Linked DNA regions of Homo sapiens: region 2 is linked to region 1. Evidence: promoter capture Hi-C in 16 types of primary human blood cells and fetal thymus (Javierre and others, 2016). All regions are on one chromosome and are shown on one strand. The core of a region is centred on a gene start or on the middle of the fragment in contact, and the rest is flanking DNA. Distances in the headings are between cores, read along the strand shown. Region 1 holds the start of EVA1C (eva-1 homolog C). Region 2 has its middle 39 kb from the start of TCP10L.

Evidence for each region. Contacts are between HindIII fragments. The CHiCAGO score rates a contact against its expected background, and 5 or more counts as called.
Region 2: a contact is called between a fragment that was not itself captured here and the fragment with the promoter of EVA1C in region 1, in 3 of 17 cell types (megakaryocytes, endothelial precursors and erythroblasts). The highest score is 8.2, in megakaryocytes.

What each region holds. Positions count from the first base shown.
Region 1 is chr21:32,411,007-32,414,594 of GRCh38, forward strand. It overlaps EVA1C (eva-1 homolog C), which reads left to right and starts at 1,700. Exons shown (of 8, transcript NM_058187.5): 1 at 1,700-2,007. The coding sequence starts at 1,848. The HindIII fragment of the contact is 8,620 bases long and covers 1-3,588 here.
Region 2 is chr21:32,544,597-32,548,184 of GRCh38, forward strand. No RefSeq gene overlaps it. Among named protein-coding and RNA genes, the nearest start is that of TCP10L, 39 kb to the right of the region's middle. The HindIII fragment of the contact is 4,581 bases long and covers 1-3,588 here.

The DNA.
Region 1 (3,588 bases), core at 450-2,949:
GCCCACTTAGACATTTGGAAGCCAGTGCAGACCCACAGGGCAGTGCTGCCCACTCCCAGGACTCGGGAGCATGGCTGCCTCCCTGTGCCAACACTGTCAGTCACTAGCGCAGAACCTGGCACACGTTGGTACCAATTCATATCTAAACTGGATGAATGAACAGACAGAATGGAAAGTACAGGAGGGACCCGAGTTTTGGACAAACATTACTTACCCTGTGGCTCCTAAGTGCTGGGCATCCTTACCCACACTCCCAGCTTCAGTTTCCCTAACCTAGAGAGCGCACACTAATATTTATGTTCAAATGTTATTGGGGAGGTTGAGTTTTTATTTAATATTTGAATGTAGATTTTAAAAATCATTATGCCAGACAGGCTGGGCCTCACTCGATAAACACTGATGTTTAGCATTTAACACACTTTTCCCCAGACTGGAAGAAGAGGCCGAGATCCCAATTCGGTGACCCAGCCCTTGCTGGAGTACTAGGTGGTATCTAATGCCATCCACCCTTCCGGGATCTTTACGGCCCACCTCTGAGTGGGTCCCACGGGGACCCTCAGCCGCATTTTCTTTCTGCAGGCCTCCCTGCACACTCTGGGGCGTTCGCAGCTCTGGAGCCCGCGGGGCAGTGCGTCCGGCCCCGCCCTGGGCCTCATTATCTACGTTTCCGCGTCACGCCCGCCGCGAACTTGGCAGGCCCTCCCGCCGGGTTCGGGAACACTGTGTGCCTAGCGCCCGCCCTCCTCCCTTCCGCCGGCCCCGCGCGATCCATAGGGTTTGGGTCGCTGGGCGCCAGGTACCCGCACCCGGCAAGCAGCCACGGAGCCCCTCGCGCACTTGTCCTCGATACCCTTGAGTTGGGGCTACGCAGGCCACTCCTAGGCCACTGGCTGGGCGTCCGAACGTGGGTCACCCCGCGCACAGTCTAGAGGTTCAGAAAGATGCTGTGGCCCACTTTAAAACAAAGCCCAATTATTAGCGCTCGGCGGCTGTTTGCGCCGGTGCAGTGTCAGATCCCCCAGCGCTGCGGACAACCAGCACCCAAAGGAAGCCGAGCTGGAGCTAAAGATCCCGGCTCCGGAGCCATCTGACCGGTTTTGAGACCTCCAGCTCGTCGCCGTCCTGGCTGCGAGAGCTTGGGCACGGCGCCGGGGCTCAGTCTCCTCTTCTGTGGAATGGCGATAACTGTATGTGCCGGGTGACTGCACGTGGCGCGCGGCGGGTGGCGGGGATGGCAGCGGTGCGATCCCACGCCTCCAGGACCCCACCTTCCTGCGGCCCCCGATCGGCCCCGCCCCGGGGGCGCCCCAGCTGCACGCGCGGCGCTGGCTCCAAAGTGCGTCACGGGCACCGGCCGCGCTCCTTCTGCCGCCAGGGCGAGGCTGGCACCCGGCCAGCGCGGGCAGGGCCACGGGTGCCCGGCTGTTTCCCGGGTGTGGAAGGCGCTCAAGGTGCGCGGCCCGGGGCGCGCTACTGGGGGCGCCCTCCGCGGTGGGCAGCGCGCCAGGGATCGGCCTGGGCAGCCGCGGGGCGCGCGAAGGCTGCGCTTTCCCTACGGCCCCCCTCGCTTCCTCCGGCACGGCGGCAACGGAGATTTCCTCTCGGGGAAACTACGCGGATCCTTTTCGGGGATCCTCGCCCCGCCCCAGTTCTCCGCCCCCTCCCCTTTGCTGGGGCGCCTGGGCTGGCCCGCGCAGGGGAGGAGGCTCTGGCAGCCTGGGCAGGGAGGCGGCGGGGGGCCGCGGAGCCGCTGGCCATCGATTCTCCCCGCCATGTGACGCCGTCCTTAGCCCTGCGACCCCCAGCGCGTCCCGGGCCTGCGCCTCCGCCCCGCCGCGCAGCGCACGATGCTTCTGCCGGGACGCGCACGCCAACCGCCGACGCCCCAGCCCGTGCAGCATCCCGGCCTCCGCCGGCAGGTAGAGCCGCCGGGGCAGCTCCTGCGCCTCTTCTACTGCACTGTCCTGGTCTGCTCCAAAGAGATCTCAGCGCTCACCGACTTCTCTGGTAAGAGCGCCCTCCCTGGCTGTGTGCCCCCGGCACCGCGGAGCGCCCAGGTGAACCCTCGACTGGGGGCAGCCGCACCAGTGGACACGGCGGGGTAGGATTAAAGTTGAGGCGTGCTCACAGACACTTGTCTGGTGTGAGCCCTTGGCATATAGATGGCTGCGAGTGAAGTGGCGACGGGGGACTGCCACTCCCAAGAAGGAAGGGTGTGTAATGTATTCAGAGTTTCTCGCCCTGCTGTTGACCTCGTCAATTTCCTAGCATTAGGGACCTGGTCCTGAGCCACGCTCGTTCTATGGAGGCTCCTTAAACTGAGCCCTGTGCCGCGCCCAGCGCTGTAAAATACACGTGTTGTGGTCGGAGGCGTTGCGCCGCGTTTGTCACCCGCGTAGCCCGTTTGCCCATGTAAGGAGACTAGCCCAGGGGACACTTGACCTCGAGTCCACATTGGCAGGTAGAAAGGGAAGCCCGCGGGGACTGGAGGTCTGGTGGAAAGGCAGTGAGGGATGAGGAGATACTTAGATAAGAGAGAGGAGCCTCTCTGCCAAAGTGTACCAGGGTCCTCCCTCTCCAATTCCAGTTTCCTTCACAGAAAATAATGACTTCCTACTCTCGAATAAACTAGGAGGCTTTTCTTTTTGGGAATCGTGATCCAGGCTCTCGCAGCGGATCTCAGATAGTTCTGAGCTTACAGGTGTGACGCCCCAAAGTGAAAGGGATTTCTAGGTTGACGATAGCCATAGGAGCACATGCTTAAGTTAGCGCTGCAGTTGCTTAAGGTAACACATGTCCTTGCCGCTGAAGCACACCTGGATCTCCCTCTGGCAAGGCTGGAGGCCTTCAGCCTTCCCCAGCCCAGCTTAGGGAGCAGCTCTGAGCCCCATACTCCTCCTTCTCCAGGGATCTTCTGCCAAGTTCAGGCTTTGCACAGTCGGTCCCTATCGGGTCCTCAGTGCAGAGTCTTTTGCAACATAATGGTGGTAAAGGGAGTCCTCCTCAGTCCTGTTTGTGCAGTAGGCTAGTACATAGCAAAGAACAAGGGCAAACCAGAAGTTGAGATGGGGTTCTAGTTTACTTACAGAGAATGTCATTGTTAGTGGAGAGCCCTTAGGTCAGAGGTTCTTTGCTTTGAATATGTAATATCAAGGCAGTATTCCTACCTAGCAAAGGAAGCCAAGATAAGGCCTATTTGGCAAGCCACCCACGGCCCTTAAAATCAAGCATCCCAGGATCAGAACTCTGTGGTAAGAGTTGTGGGGAAATGCATCAGACTTTTCAAGGGCTATTAACTTTTTTTTTTGTACTACTAGAACTTTCTTGGCTGCTAGAAAAGCTCTGTATTAGCTGATTTGAGCTATGGAAAGCAGTTCTGAGTTCAGCCACCATCTAGCTCTGAATTCTAAGGAAATAATTGAAAACTGACAAGCCTTTTTGTGTTTGTGACATCATTGCAACTGAACAAATATTGCTTTAGGCAAATTGCAGTGTAACCATTAGATTGTTTTCACAGATTATAGACACTTAGAGTTCTGTTGCTTTAGGGAAGCAGTTGCAATACTTGTAACAGTCTATAGATTACCA
Region 2 (3,588 bases), core at 626-3,125, 130 kb after region 1:
TACTATCAAGGAATCAAAAAAAGCAACTCCTTCAATAATCTAATTTATAGGAAATAGAGTAAATTACAATGATGCCTCTTTAATCTAATTAATTAGCTAATTGATTAATTTAATTAGTTAATTAACTAATGTCCCTGATGGGCAAAGTTTTCTTAACCAGAGAGCTTCCTGGCCCACACAAGAAAGGAAAAATTAATGATCCATCAGCTGTTTCTGAACTTCAGGATAGTTGGAGGCCCAGCTTCAGGGATCACGTCTTCTGTGAGGTCACAAAGGAAATTACGCCTTCAAGAATGCACTGTTCAAGCCATATCCTTGACTCCGATGAATCAATCAGGAAAGGGCTATTGTTATAAATAAGCAAATGAGACTGGTCATCAAGCAACTGGTCCTCAAGGTTTGACTTCTTTTCTTCTCCACCACTGAACAGATTTACTTTTTTTTTTTTTTTTTTGAGATGGAGACTCTCTGTCGCCCAGGCTGGGGTGCAGTGGTGCTACCTCGGCTCACTGCAACCGCTGTCTCCTGGGTTTTTAGGCAATTCTCCTGCCTCAGCCTCCCGAGTAGTTGGGATTACAGGCACCCACCACCATGCCTGGCTAATTTTTGTATTTTTAGTAGAAACAGAGTTTCACCATGTTGGCCTGGCTGGTCTCAAACTCCTGACCTCAAGTGATCCACCCGCCTTGGCCTCCTGGAGTGCTGGGATTACAGGCATGAGCCACCATGCCTGGCCTAAATTTACTTTTAATCTCATGAGATGCTGAGGACTAAGACCCCCTCCTTCCCAGGGCCCAAAGCAAGAAAATGGGATGGAGAGGCCCATCTCCAAAGATCTTACCCTTGGAATAAGGGTCTTTTTCCCACACCTCCTTGACATCTATTCCCCCTGGGCTGTTTTTATTTTCCTAACCCACACTCCATCAGCTTTAAGCACTAAAGAACTTTTTGGCCACCTCAGGACAAAAATTTGTTACAAAAATCACCTCCTAAATCAAATGAGCTGAGCCTCACTAAGTAAATCAGGCTTTGGACAGGCTCCGCTTCCTGTTGGTTGTTCATACATTTGTGTTGCTCAAGTCTTCATCTTAGAACCCAACCCCGCCTTGCTGGATTCCTGATGGAATTTCTCTTTGCACCTGAACAATTCTTCAGGCATCTTCTCCTTTTAATTTTGAAGAATGTGATACCTTTCTGTCAGAAAAGGTATCCAGGTCTTAGATTCACACTCAAGCCATGAATAATACTCTTCTGGGCATACATAAATACACGATTTTCCCAAATTCTCCTTCTCCTAGCACAGAGACCAAAGCCTTCTTCCTTCCCTTTCCCTAGCCTTCTTTCAAATTCTCACCTTTCCTGGCATTTGTTTACTTGCTCAACCTTCTAACAAACATTTATTTAACAAACATCTGCTATGATCCAGGCACTGAACTAAGTGACACAAAGGTGAGTAAGACACAGTCCTTGCCGTAAGAAGTTCATGCTCTTATGAAGCAGACCAGTTATCAGACCATTACAGTGCATGGTGGAAGGGCAGAGATAGCGTTAAGCCCAGGACATTATAGGGCCCCTCAAAAAGAGCCAAGTCACCCCACTGGGGACCCTGTCTGTTTCCCCTCACTCTTCAGGTTCTAGGTGTTTTCAGAGTTGTGTTTCTTTAAAGTGTTTAAATAGTTTCCTTTCTAGCAACCTCCCCCATGGATAACGACGTAGACCTTCCCAACTCCCAATCTGAATCATTGTATTACTTCCAGGCCAGCGACTCATATATTCCTAGACTCATCAACTTCTCATCATCCGTACTACCACAAACATCAGAATATCTAAAACCCCTAGAGTCCAATCCACTCCAGTCCATGTTTGAGTTTTCCAAATCCACATGTCATTTGAAGGTGAATTTTCCATGCATTGTGTTTTGAAATCAACAGACATATACTTAATCCTTTTGCCTCAGTTTCTGATCATCATAAAGACAGGAAAAACAGAAATCCTCAGTTCATTTTAATTCTCTTAGTCCTCAACGTGATATTCGTTCACATCCTTCATGACTGGCCTCTCTTTTACCTATCTGGTTTTGAATTACATTGGCTAACTTCAGAAAAGTCATCGTTACTAAATTGTCTCTGAAAGAAAGTAATTGAGGCAGAAGATATATGCAGTTCTTCAGCAATTGTTTGAGCTGCACTGTCAGTGTAGAAATAAGCAGCCTAATAAGAGGTCAGATACGTGGATTTTAAAAGCCTATTTATCATACAGTATTCAAACCCTTTAATCATTTTATAAGCCTCACATTAAATGTCAGTTGTCATTCTTTTTCCCATCATGATTACTTAACAAACCAAAATACCATTATGTTGTTCCTTTTCTAGAAAAAAAAAATGCTTCAACGTGAAAGAAATAAAGCTACAGAGAGACAGGGCTGGCGCAGGGGATCTGGACCTAGAGAACCAGCTTCAAATTCTGCTCCACAACCTATTTATTGTGTGATTTGAAGCCAATTATTTAAGTTCTTTGAGCTTCAGTCCCTTGATCTATTCAAGGAAGATAATAATAATCTCTGCCTTACAGTGTTTTCAAGGGTGAGTCCACACCCATCCTTGAGTGAATCATCACCTTGGTGGGCTCCATGGCACCCTCCTCCCCCACCCCACCCCCGGCCGGCCCTCCTTTCTGAAGCAGCCTCTCCCACCCTGAGGTGCCCCACCCTCCAAGTTTCCTGCTGCTCTGGGCACTCCTACATCTCTGCACCATGGCCCACACACACCGGAGTCCTGGCATCTCAGTCCTAGTCTTCATTCTTATTTAGTAGCCTCTCTTTAAGATGGTTCATCCACACTGGCAGCTTCCATTTTCAGATGCCTCCAATCTTTCATTTGAATATCAGACCTTTATAGGCAACTATTCACACCATACCTTCTTTTGGGGGGTATCTCCCACTCAACAGGTCTAAATGAAGTTTGAGTCCTCTCCTAAATCTAGCGGGCTTCCCATGTTCTTATTCTCAGCTAGTGGCACTGCCACTCATCCAGCTGTGCGAGCCAGACACCCAAAGAGTCATCCCAGACCCCTCACCTGCTCCCCAACCCCAGCCATCACAAGCCCTGTCCATTCTCCCTCCTAAAGAGCTCAGAAATATGCCTTCAGAACTACGTCTTCATTGGACCACCCCGGTCTGAGGTACAACCCACCTATTTCCTAAACCATCCCATCGTACTCACTGCCGTGCCCCAGCAGAGCGCCCTTCTCAATGCACAGATGTTGTGGTGTCATTTCCCTACTTCTGTCCTCTCACAGCTCTGCATTGCTCTTTGGGTCAAAAATAAAATCTTTTTTTTAAATTTATATAAATATATGGGGTTCAAGAACAATTTCGTTACATGCATAGATTGCATAATGGTTAAGTCGGGGTTTTTACATATTCATTATCCAAATAATGTATATTGCACCCATTAAGTAGTTTCTCATCCTCCACCCCCTCCCGCTCCCTCATCCTTCCAAATCTCCATTGTCTATTATTCCAATCTCTATGGCCATTTGTACACATTTTTTCACTTCCACTTACAAGTGGGAAATATGCAATATTTG